2 separate regions of the Homo sapiens genome follow, and region 1 is linked to region 2. Evidence: promoter capture Hi-C in human tissues and cell types (Jung and others, 2019). All regions are on one chromosome and are shown on one strand. Each heading gives the region's core, a stretch centred on a gene start or on the middle of the fragment in contact. The rest is flanking DNA. Distances are from core to core; before and after follow the strand shown. Region 1 holds the start of LOC107985304 (a long non-coding RNA gene). Region 2 holds the start of ZNF793 (zinc finger protein 793).

What was found. Contacts are between HindIII fragments. The study calls those that stand out against the background at their distance.
Region 1: a fragment that was not itself captured here is called in contact with the fragment with the promoter of ZNF793 in region 2 in 1 of the 25 tissues and cell types used here (lymphoblastoid cells).

What each region holds. Positions count from the first base shown.
Region 1 is chr19:36,231,464-36,237,774 of GRCh38, reverse strand. It overlaps ZNF146 (zinc finger protein 146), which reads right to left. Exons shown (of 4, transcript NM_007145.3): 4 at 1-2,116. The coding sequence starts at 1,334. The coding sequence ends at 456. LOC107985304 (a long non-coding RNA gene) reads left to right here and starts at 2,023. Exons shown (of 2, transcript XR_001753933.3): 1 at 2,023-2,191. It also overlaps a transcript of ZNF565 not described here. RefSeq lists a silencer at 1,201-1,401 and enhancers at 3,199-3,700, 3,701-4,203. The HindIII fragment of the contact is 4,389 bases long and covers 803-5,191 here.
Region 2 is chr19:37,504,868-37,511,249 of GRCh38, reverse strand. ZNF793 (zinc finger protein 793) reads right to left here and starts at 4,311. Exons shown (of 8, transcript NM_001013659.3): 1 at 4,284-4,311; 2 at 2,847-2,985. ZNF793-AS1 (ZNF793 antisense RNA 1) reads left to right here and starts at 4,163. Exons shown (of 3, transcript NR_110723.1): 1 at 4,163-4,411; 2 at 5,210-5,404. RefSeq lists enhancers at 4,095-4,244, 3,810-4,601, 4,602-5,393. The HindIII fragment of the contact is 9,018 bases long and covers 1-5,581 here.

The DNA of each region.
Region 1 (6,311 bases), core at 1,748-4,247, 1.3 Mb after region 2:
TAATAAATGCATAGGTCTTTTTTTGAAATCTCTTCTGCTCTGCTCAATCAATACCACAGGAGTCTTAATATTAGTTGTAGATGACCATGTCATCTATTTTTGTCTGTTCCTTTCCAATATTTACAACTTAATTTTTCTTGTTACTGGCGAAGATCTCCAGATCTATGGTGGTAGCAATAAAAAACAGGCCTCCATTTTCTGTTCCCACTTTTAGTGAAAATGTGCCTAAACTTTCACCATTATCTCTGCTGCAGGTTTCTCTGTTGGACACAGGGTTTTAATCATATGCATGTCTTTCTCTTCAGTACAAATTTTCTGGTGTCCCTTAAGTTTTTAGTACTTGTTAAAGTTAACCTCATTCGTGGTGCTTTGCTTCAGAAGGATTATTTCTGGGGCATGATGAGGTGCAAATTTCTAATGAAAGCTTTCCCACTTTCAAGGCTTTCATGGGGTTTTTAGTGAGTATGAATTTTCTGGTGTCTAATGTGGTGTGACTTCTGGCTGAAAGCTTTCCCACATTCACTGCACTGATAAGGCTTCTTACCTGTGTGTATTCTCAAATGCAGAGCAAGGGTTGAGAACTGAGAGAAAGCTTTCCCACATTCATTACAACCATAGGGCTTCTCCCCTGTATGGCTTCTCACATGCACAGTGAGAGATGAGCTCTGAGAGAAGGCTTTTCCACAAACATTGCATTCGTAAGGTTTATCACCTGAATGAATCCTCACATGTACAATAAGTGATGTTCGCTGAGAGAAGGCTTTTCCACATTCGTTACATTCATAGGGTTTCTCTCCAGTGTGAATGTTCTGATGTTTTATGAGGTACTTCTTCTGGCCAAAGGCTGTTCCACATTCACTACATTTAAAAGGCTTCTCTCCAATATGGATTTTCTCATGCTCAGTAAGGTTGGATTTGCCACTGAAGGTTTTTCCACACTCCTTACATACAAAGGGCTTCTCTCCTGTGTGAGTTCTCTGGTGTCTGATGAGGTTTGACTTCTGAATGAAAGCTTTCCCGCAATCTTTACACTCAAAAGGTTTTTCTCCAGTGTGAATTTTCTGGTGCGTAAGGAGGTTTTCCTTCTGGCTAAATGATTTTCCACATTCATTACATTCGAAAAGCTTCTCGCCAGTATGGGTGTTCTGATGTTTAATGACATACTGCTTTTGGCTAAAGGCTTTTCCACACTCGTTACATTCAAAAGGTTTCTCTCTCGTGTGAAAATGCTCATGCTCAGTGAGGTTTGATTTGTGGCTGAAGACTTTTCCACATACCTTACAGGCAAAGGGGTTTTCCCCACTGTAAATTCTCTGCTGGCTGAGGTGTGACATCTGAATGGAAGCTTTCCCACATTCACAAGGTTTCTCTCCAGTAAAAATTTCTTGATGAGTGAGGATTTACTTTTGGCTGAAGATATTTCCACATCTCTTACATTTATAAGGCTTCTCTGTGTATGATCTCCCAAATGCAGAGTAAGGGATAAGGTTTGAGAGGAAATGTTATCATACTCAGTATATTCAATGCTTTCTCTCTAGAAAAATTTTCTAATATTCAATGAAGTATTGCTACCTTCACTAGTTTCTCTCCAGCATGAATTTTCTGCTTCTCAATGAGATTGTCATCTAGCTAAGGGCTTGTCAATACTCCTTAGAAGCACAGGGTTTCTCTTCAGCATGACTTGCACGTTCGACGAAATGCAACATATGAGTAACAGTTCCCCCACATTCAGTAAATTCATAGGGTTTCTCTCCAGTATGAACACTCTGGTAACAGATGAGGTACAAACGTTTTAAACCAAAGACATTTACACTTAAAGGGGGTTAATACCATAAGGAGTAAGCTGTGGTAGAGAAGCTCCCAACTAAGTCCCTTGATGATTCTTTCCTACACAACCTCCCTCATGATTTCAGTCCAGGTTGTGTTTCAAACTGAAAACTTCAAAAAGGTGTGGCCTTAAAACAAATACGATCTGAGAACAGAGGAAGTATTTTTTCTTATATTCAACGCTCTTTTTCTCAGTCTTTCCTGGAGATGGATCAACATGCCTCCCAAGTCCTGGTGCCTCTCAAGTCCTGGTGCCTCTCTATCTGTGCATCATCTTCTCAGGCTTCTTCTAAAATGGAGTACAAAGAACCATAGCACAAAGGAGTTAAATTCATAAAGTGCCCAGAACCATGGCTGCCATATGGTAAGCCCTTCATTTTACCTTTATATTACTATCACTTTTATTTGTTAATTTTCCCATTACTAGCAATAAAATTTTTTGAGATTAACTCTGGTAGCCCATCTCCCAATATGAAAATAATCTATATTATTAATGCTTCCAACTAAATTATGAGAAGGGAACCCTACTTGAGGTGATCTAGGTAGAAAATTAACATTCATGGGTCCACAAAGCTGAAAGTACTCTTGAAAAATAACCTTTCCATTTCAGAATTTAGCAAGTTGTATAACAAATAATGAAGAATTGCCAAATAGAAGAAAAAGATGAAAATTAGAAAGTCTACCTGGGATGCTAAGGAAGAAAAATAATGTTCATCTTTCTTTCTTCTTTTTTTTTTTTTGAGACGGAATTTCGCTCGTTATCCAGGCTGGAGTGCAGTGGTGCGATCTCGGCTCACTGCAGCCTCCGCCTCCTGGGTTCAAGCAATTCTCTAGCCTCAGCCTCCTGAGTAACTGGGATTACAGGTGTGCACCACCATACCTGGCTAAATAATGCTCATCTTTCTAAGAAAAGGAATAGATCAACCAACAAGTGCTTCCTCCCAAAACCCCATTAAAATTATAAGGAGAAAATGGTACAAATTCCCTTATTCAAAAGGAATAAAGGATGGTGGCTGAAAAAAAAGTGTAAGGAACAGTTGAACATGCACTGTCCAGTCACGAGAACAAAGGACTGGACACACCTTCATATGAAATGGAAGTTTATCCCCTGCAGAATTTTAATCAGAGCTCAGGGGCATTCAGCAAATGAGATGACAGGAATGAGCTGCTATACGGAAATCAGAGATTAAACCCACATATATGGTAAGACCTGCAGCACCATTCTGCAGCTGAAGACAAAAGATGCTGGCTGGCCGGGCGCAGTGGCTCACGCCTGTAATCCCAGCACGTTGGGAGGCCGAGGTGGGCGGATCACGAGGTCAGGAGATCAAGACCATCCTGGCTAACACAGTGAAACCCCATCTCTACTAAAAATACAAAAAATTAGCCGGGCGTGGTGGCGAGCAACCAGATGCAAAGCTTGAACCCTGATTACATTCTGTAATTTTAAAAAACTATGGAAGGCATTCTGGGGACAATTGGAAAAATGTGAACATAGACTGGGTAGTCTAATATTAGGACAACATGGTTAATCTTCTAAGGTGTGAAACGGTATTTTGTTATATGGGAGAGCTCCCTTTTTTTTTGAGACAGTCTTGCTCTGTCGCCCAGGCTGTGTGGGGAAAAGAAAGAGAGATCAGACTGTTACTGTGTCTGTGTAGAAAGAAGTAGACATAAGAGACTCCATTTTGTTCTGTACTAAGAAAAATTATTCTGCCTTGAGATGCTGTTAATCTGTAACCCTACCCCCAACCCTGTGCTCACTGAAACATGTGCTGTGTCAACTCAGCGTTAAATGGATTAAGGGCTGTGCAGGATGTGCTTTGTTAAACAAATGCTTGAAGGCAGCATGCTCCTTAAGAGTCATCACCACTCCCTAATCTCAAGTACCCAGAGACACAACACACTACAGAAGGCCGCAGGGACCTCTGCCTAGGAAAGCCAGGTATTGTCCAAGGTTTCTCCCCATGTGATAGTCTGAAATATGGCCCCGCGGGAAGGGAAAGACCTGACCGTCCCCCAGTCCGACACCCGTAAAGGGTCTGTGCTGAGGAGGATTAGTAAAAAAGGAAGACCTCTTTGCAGTTGAGATAAGAGGAAGGCATCTGTCTCCTGCTCTTCCCTGGGCAATGGAATGTCTCCGTGTAAAGCTGGATTGTATATTCCATCTACTGAGATAGGGGAAAACCGCCTTAGGGCTGGAGGTGGGACATGCTGGCAGCAACACTGCTCTTTAAGGCATTGAGATGTTTATGTATATGCACATCAAAAGCACAGCACTTTTTTCTTTACCTTGTTTATGATGCAGAGACATTTGTTCACGTTTTCCTGCTGACCTTCTCTCCACTATTACCCTATTGTCCTGCCACATCCCCCTCTCCGAGAAACGCCCGATAATGATCAATAAATACTAAGGGAACTCAAGAGGCCGGTCCTCTTGAGAGGTCCTCCGTATGCAGGTCCTCCCTAACGCCGGTCCCCTGGGCCCATTTTTCTTTCTCTATACTTTGTTTCTGTGTCTCTTTCTTTTCCAAGTCAGTCCTTCCACCTGACGAGAAACGCCCACAGCTGTGGAGGGGAAACCCACCCCTTCAGGCTGGTGTGCAGTGGTGCGATCTCGACTCACTGCAACCTCGGCCTCCTGGCTTCAAGTGATTCTTGAAGCCTCAACCTCCCAAGTAGCTGGGATTACAGGCATGCATCACCACGCCTAATTTTTGTATTTTTAGTAGAGACAGGATTTCACTATGTTGGCCAGGCTGGTCTGGAACTCCTGACATCTGGTGATCTGCCCGTATCTGCCTCCCAAGTGCTGGCACTACAGGCGTGAGCCACCACGCCTGGCCAGGAGCTGCTTTTCTTGGTAGAAAATACATATTTAATTTTTTAGAAGTAAAACATCATGATGCCTCAGCACACAAAATAAACACATGGATACGGACATACAAAAGCGTGGCAAAATATTAATTATTCAATCCACATGGGGGGTACATAAGAGATTCTTTAACTATTCCTTCAGCATTTGTTATATTTAAAAAATGTTCATATGAAAAAATAATTGAATGGCTGGGCATGGTGACTCACACCTGTAATCCCAGCACTGTGGGGCCAAGAGTTTAAGACAAGCCTGGCCAACATGGTGAAACCTCGTCTCTACTAAAAATACAAAAAATTAGCTGGATGTGGTGGCATGCTCCTATAATCCCAGCTACTCAAGAGGCTGAGACAGGAGAATCACTTGAAACCGGGAGGTGGAGGTTGTAGTGAGCCCAGATCGCACCACTGCACTCCAGCCTGGGTGACAGAGGGAGACTATGTCTCGGGAAAAAAAAAAAAAAGAAAAAAGAAAAAAGAACTGATCAGTATTTCCACACAAAAAATTCATAGATTATTTAACAGCAACTCATGCGTTCTCAAACTACTGATCAGAAAAATAAAACATGGACCTTCCTTTTAACCGGATTATAATGCAGACTATAGACGGCAAAATCTAAAACCATGTTTAAGGTATCATTTGCTGAGAACTTGTAAGTTCCTCTGGAAAATATGAAGTAATGGACAAGCAGAGGGAAGAGGAAAAAAGGCAGAAGTAACAAACATTTTAATGAAAACTGAATTCAAGTTTATATAAGTAGTACCTACATAAGTAGAATATTTCATAATCAAAGGCCAAGATTCAAAAATTTTATAAAGAGAAAGAAATATGTTCATATTTGTAGTCACATAATTTGTATGTTTTTTTTTTTTTTTTTTGAGATGGAGTCTCGCTCTGTTGCCCAGGCCGGAGTGCAGTCTCAGCTCACTGCAACCTCCGCCTCCCAGGTTCAACCGATTCTCCTGCCTCAGCCTCCCGAGTAGCTGGGACGATAGGTGTGCATCACCACGCCCAGCTAGTTTTTGTATTTTTAATAGAAACGGGGTTTTACCATGTTGGCCAGGCCAGTCTCAAACTCTTGACCTCAGGTGATCTGCCTGCCTCGGCCTCCCAAAGTGTTGGGATTACAGGGGTGAACCACCGAGTCTGGCCTTTTTTTTTTTAAATAAAAAAGATACGGGGTCTCAACACGCTGCCCAGGCTGGTCTAGAACTCCTAGGCTCAAGAGATCTGCCGCCTCGCCTACAGATGTGAGCCACCGTGCCTGGCCCTTTGTTCTCTATTAAAGAGAGCTTAGTGTGTCTTTTTAAGGCTTGACTGATCCTATTACAAAGACCATGGGAAAAGAAATAATCCAGAAATAACATGAAACTGGTCTGAGGTAATCTCTGGATCTGAAAATAATAGGATGAAAATTTTAATTTGGGTAGCATTCTGACACAATGAGAATGAAATTAGACAGCTGTCTGTCCCATAAACAGGTAAAGTTGTGTAAGGCAAGACAGAAACTCTGGAGATGCCAAAATAAGAATTGATATTATAGTTAATTATAACTTAAGAATGAGTCCAGGTGTAGTGGCTCCCGCCTGTAATCCTAGCACTTTGAGAG
Region 2 (6,382 bases), core at 3,062-5,561:
AGGGGAGATATATAATTCAATTCAAATTCAAAAGCATGCAAAAGTAATCCACTATATTAAACACTAGTTACCCCTAGGGTGGCAGTAGGTATTGACCAGTAAGGACACCTTCCAGGTGTTAGAAGTGATGAATATCTTGATCTAGGCTGTGGTTACAGGACTCTGTAATATAAAAATTCATTGAGCTGCACCTTAAAGATAAGCCCACTTCACTACATGTGTATTATGCCTCAATTTTTTTAAAGAATTTTTTGGCCGGGTGTGGTGGCTCACGCCTGTAATCCCAGCACTTTGGGAGACTGAGGTGGGCGGATCACGAGGTCAGGAGATTGAGACCATCCTGGCTAACACAGTGAAACCCCCGTCTCTACTAAAAATACAAAAAAGTAGCTGGGCGTGGTCATGGGCACCTGTAGTCCCAGCTACTCGGGAGGCTGAGGCAGGAGACTGGTGTGAACCTGGGAGGCAGGGGTTGCAGTAAGCCGAGATCGTGCCACTGCACTCCAGCCTGGGCAATAGAGTGAGACCCTGTCTCAAAAAAAAAAAAGAAAAGAATTTTTTTTTTTGAAACAGGGTCTCACTCTGTCACCCAGGCTAGGGTGCAGTGGCACAATCATAGCTCACTGCAACCTTGAACTCCTGGGCTCAAGGAATCCTCTCACTTCAGCCTTTCCAGTAGCTAGGATCACAAGTGTGAGCCACCACACCCAGCTAATTTTTTTTTTTTTTTTTTTGAGATGGAGTTTCACTCTTGTTGCCCAGGCTGGAATGCAGTGGTGCAATCTCGGCTCACTGTAACCTCTGCCTCCTGGGTTTAACTAATTCTCCTGCCTCAGCCTCCCAAGTAGTTGGGATTACAGGCGCCCACCACCAAGCCCAGCTAATTTTTTTTTTTTTTTGTAGTTTTAGTAGAGACGGAGTTTCACCATGTTGGCCAGGCTGGTCTTGAACTCCTGACCTCAAGTGGTCCACCTGCCTCGGCCTCCCAAAGTGCTGGGATTACAGGCATCAGCCAACATGCCCAGACTACCCAGCTTATTTTTAAATTTTTTGTAATGATGGAGTTTCGCTATGTTGCGCAGGCTGGTCTCAAGATCCTGGCCTCAAACAACCCTCCTACCCCAGCCTTCCAAAGCACTGAGATTACAGGTGTAAGCCACTGTGCCTGGCCAAACAAGGAATATTTAATGACCTGGAAAAGTATCTGTTATATAAATGAAATTATCTCAATTCAAACTTGGAAATTTTGTTTAAACACAGCCACATCTTGCCTCTCCCCATGGTGCTCCTCCCCCCCAATGAATATCCCATTAAATTAGAGATCAAAAACAGACAATACTAAGATTAGAAGCTAGGGAACCTCTGGCAGAGTAGTGACTGGGAGGGGCATCATGAGGGCACGGTGCTAGAATGTTGTTTTCTGATCTGAGTGCATTACCCAGGGGTATTCCCTTGTGACAATTCATTGAGCTACATATTTATATACATTTTTGCATATATATCACAATAAAAAGTTTATGTAAAATTTCTTTTTAATTATTTGCTCTGAAACCTGGCACTGAGCACAGTATAGGTGGTGAAGGGAATCAACATGGAGAAAAAATTACCCAAACTCCTTACCCTGGCTTATTATTTCACCCATGCTAAGCAGCTATCTGTCTTTGATTCTGTGCAAGTGAAAAACAGGGACTATCTGCTTTTAAAACTAAAATTTGACCTATGTGGGTTCTGAAAGATGTTACCTGCCTTAGCATCCAGCTGCCTTTATTTCTTAAGATGCTACAGGCATTGTGCTTTGTCTGAAGGTTACATAAAGATCAAACGTAATAATTTTTTAAAATTAAAATATTGTTTTGACATTGCACTTTTTCATTAATGGTCAAAATCTTATTTTCTAACTCAGAAATAGAAAGTCAAATACTGCATGTTCTCACTTATAAGATAATAATGTGTACACATGGATATAGAAAGCAGAATAATAGACACAGATGACTCTGAATGGAGGGAGGGTAGGAAGCGGGTAAGGGATGAGAAATTATCAGATTGGTACAATGTACATTATTCAAGTGATAGTTACACTAAAAGCCCAGGCTTCCCCACTGTGAAATATACCCATGTAACAAAACTGCACTTATATCCCCTAAATCTATTTTTTCAAATCTTATTTCCATTTTATTTGCAATCCCATCTCAGCCATTTTAATAACTATTAGTTCAATTTTAATTTCAGTGAGGAACAGTTTCTAAAAGTAGCTTACATTTTGTTTTGTGGCGGTTGTGGCTTTATCTGTCTTGAATTTTTTCTGCCAGGACTTTATAAGGAATTGATTAGTGGAGGTTAAAAATGGCTATGCCTAAAATATATAGGACAAGGCAAAAAGTTTCTCAGAATACAATAAATTCCAAATCTAGTTTCTCTTCCTTTGATAATTTAAGTTGAGCCTAGATAAAAGTATTTTCTAAACACTCTGTTTGCTCTTTCAGCCAAATCTTTTACATTATCATTTTATTTTATTTTGTTTATTTATATTTATTTATTTATCTTGAGACAGAGTCTCATTCTGTCACCCGGGCTGGAGTGCAGTGGTACAATCTCGTTTCACTGCAATCTCCACCTCTTGGGTTCAAACGATTCTCCTGCCTCAGCCTCCAGAGTAGCTGGGACCTCAGGCGCCCGCCACCACGCCCGGCTAATTTTTGTGTTTTTAGTAGAGGCAGGGTTTCACCATGTTGACCAGGCTAGTAATTCCTGACTTCAAATGATCCACCCACCTCAGCCTCCCAAAGTGCTGGGATTACAGGCATGAACCACTGCACACAGCCTACATTATCATTTTAGATACTTACTCAGTAAATTTGTTTTCTAACCACGGGCAAGGTCACATCCATCCCCGCTGTCACAGAGTCAGAATGGATTTCCAGAAACCAGCCTCACTCTTGGGATGCTGGCACAGATGCGTATGTCATTACCTTTGCCAGAAAGAGCCTTAAAGGAAACATTAGGAAAAAATATGCATTAGATCCCTAACAAGAATAGAAGCCACGTCTTTAGTAACATGTTACTTTAGATAAGTTTAGCACGCGATCCTTTCAAATTATTTTCATTATTGTAGAGAACAATAAAAAGGGTGTGGGTTCAAAAAAGAGTTTTCAGATGGGCCTTGGTGGAGAGGAACTGGCTGCTATTCAGCTAGGGAGTGTCACCTGAGTGAAATGTGTTCCCGCTATGCAGGCTTGCAGCCTCAAATCTGTGATTTTCCCATCCCCAATCTCCACATTTCAGGACCCTCAACACCAACCCCTATAAGTCTCCTAATCAGACACGCATAGTGCCCCCAATCACTGGCCTCCAATCTCCAACCCTCAGAGGTTTTCATAGTCACTGATATTCCCCTATGTTCAAATCTGACCAGGAGAGACTACAGGTCAGTAACTACAAAGAACACCGATCCGATCTGATTGCCAGTGAAATTACACAGCCCCCAATCATGAATCCACACTGATTGCCAATGATATCCCAACGACTGAGGATCAATTGTTGATTCTCACAGTCCCACTCCCACCCACAAGTGACAGTCCGAATCACTGAGCCTCATTGAGGCGTACCTTTAAGATAAGCACACTTGACTCTATTCTCCATTCCCTGATCTACAAAAGTCCAATCGTTAATACTCTCCGATCCTCCACCGATGATATGAAGTAAGTCTCAATCACCGATGGCCCAAAACATTTCTCCAAACATTCATCACCACTGACCTCCCTCATTTGAACCCCAAAGTTTCCACAATCACCAATTCCAGTACCCAAACTATTACTGCCCACAGAACTTAGAACCTCCGATCACTGATCCTCTCGGGCTCCGATCATTAACCTTAAAGATCTCTAAACCAGTGTCTGAAAAATCCCAACTGACCCCAGACCCATGAAGACCACTATTACTGACCCCATGCACCCTGAAAATCAAGACATTTCACAGAACTCGCATTTATTGATTCCCACACACTCCCAATCCATCTTCTTCAGAGACCGTGCCACTGACTCCCGCAAACCTCTGTCCGCCACCACTGAGGCCCCGCGAGGCTCAGACGCCGAATCTCTTAACCCTTCAGTTCCCTTGTCATTGACCCTCACGGGCACCCATAGCTGACCCAGTCGGCCACCGTAGTCGGCAGCTCACTATCCTCCACTAGTCCCAGGTTTGACCGTTTCTCAAACCGTGCCTTCCCATTTATGCTGCATCCGCGCCCTGAATCTGAAATTGGTCGTCCTGCCACGCCGCCTCACCGCGGTATAAGGTCGTCCCATCCTGAATGGCCGGTGCGCAGACTCAATTGCGACTTTGAGGCTGTCAGCCGCCACCCGGCAACCTTCCAGTGAACAGGATTCTGGGTTTCTCAAAGCTGTAATTGGAGGTATGATGGCGACGCCCACTTGACTCCTACCTGGGGCGGCCATGTTTAAAACTGTGCCGTAAAACGGATGATTAAGCCCTTTGCTAGACCAAAAGATAAGGCTATTTTAGGACAAGGAGAAGGAAGTGTCCCTGGATCCCTAAACAGAGATGTCGTCTCTGCTCTTAACTCAGCATCTCAGATGCCAAAACCTCCTGTGGCCAACATGGTGGCGCCCAGACATCAAAGCTGAGCTTTCTTTGTCTCCGGCAGCCTGGTAAGATGGCCGCGTACATTTTTACCGCTTCTTACGTGCAATGGGTGCAGCCTCTCCTAGGAGCTCCCCTATGGCAATGTGAAACTCTTTCTGAGCCAGCTCTAGGAGTTAGAGAGCAGCGAAGAGACTCGCTCTTAGGGAGACAGAGACAGCCTAAGGACGGGCGTGACTTCACGGAAAGGGCGGAGCCGCAAGGAAAGGGCGGGGCTGCCGCAGCGGGAAGAGATCAGAGTTCTTAGCGCATAATGGAAAGGAAATGTTGAAAGCAAGGTTTTTACCTAAGGAGGCTTGCCCGAGAAGCCGACCTGAGGAAAGAATGAGTGCAAGCAGTTTATTTGGTAGGTGGGGGATGGAGAAGTGAGACGGGAGCGATGGGAACGAATATACAGTGCATAGGTGAGCAGATTAGCTCTGGATCAATGAGGGCTCAGTCAGCTTGGGACCTCTGGGGGATTGTGTAGAAACCACTTCCAAGTTTTCACAACCACCAGGCCGATGAAGCTTACATATGTCTACACCATCTCTCTTCCTAATTGTTTTAGGGCCACTCCAGAGGTGTTAAAGCTCCAGCACTTCGAGCCTGCCTCGTGGGAAAGTCTTAGGCTGAGTCTGTAGGTGTCTGCAGTTAAGAAGCCAGCGGTCTGCATATGATTGCTCAGGGGTGGTGGCTGGGTCCAACAGCATTCACTACAGGCCTGCCTTGAATACCACCTAGCGCAGTGCTCCGCATATCACAGGTATTGGAACATCTCTAGAAAAGATTGCCTTGTCTTATGAAAATGGCTTTTTAAAAAAATCCTAATTCCAACTGGTCATCCTAGCAACTGATACAATAACTGACCTCAAAATGTTTCCCAATGATTCCTACCTCCTACTATTCACACTCTTATGTAGTTCCCTCCCACATTGTACCAGGGTTGGACTGTGAGACTAATAGAATGCAGTAGCAGTGATAGATGTCACTGCTGAGATTAAATATAATAAATGGCACCTTGAGTTCTGTCTTAAAGGCTGCTGCCCCCACTTTGAGAGAAGTTAGTTGCCATGTCATGAGGATACCGAGACAGCCTATGGAGAGGCCCAGGTAGCAAGGAACTAAGCCCTCCACCCAATAGCCTGGGAGTAGCTGGGGCCTTCCTATAACCAAGTGTATCACCCTTGGAAGCACATCTCCCAGCCCCAGTCAAACCTTGAGATGACAGCAGCCCCTGCCAATAGTTTGACTGCAACTGCGTGAGAGACACAGTCACAAGCACTCAGCTATAGCAGCTCCTATATTCCTCACCCTCAGAAAGTGTGTAAGATACTACATGTTTGTTGTTTTAAGCTTCTGAGTTTAGGGTAATTTGCTATGCATCAGTAGATAACTTCAATGCTGTGTTAAAATGCTACAATTGACATTTCTTCTTTTTTTTTTTTTTTGAGACGGAGTTTCGCTCTTGTTGCCTAGGCTGGAGTGCATTGGTGCAATTTCAGCTCACCGCAACCTCTGCCTCCCGGGTTCAAGCGATTCTCCTGCCTCAGCCTCCTGAGTAGCTGGGATTACAGGCATGCACCACCACGCCAGGCTAATTTTGTATTTTTAGTAGAGACGGGGTTTCTCCATGTTGGTCAGGCTGGTCTCGAACTCCCGACCTCAGGTGATCCGCCTGCCTCGACCTCCCAAAGTGCTGGGACTACAGGTGTGAGCCACCGCGCCCAACCCCATTTCTGAA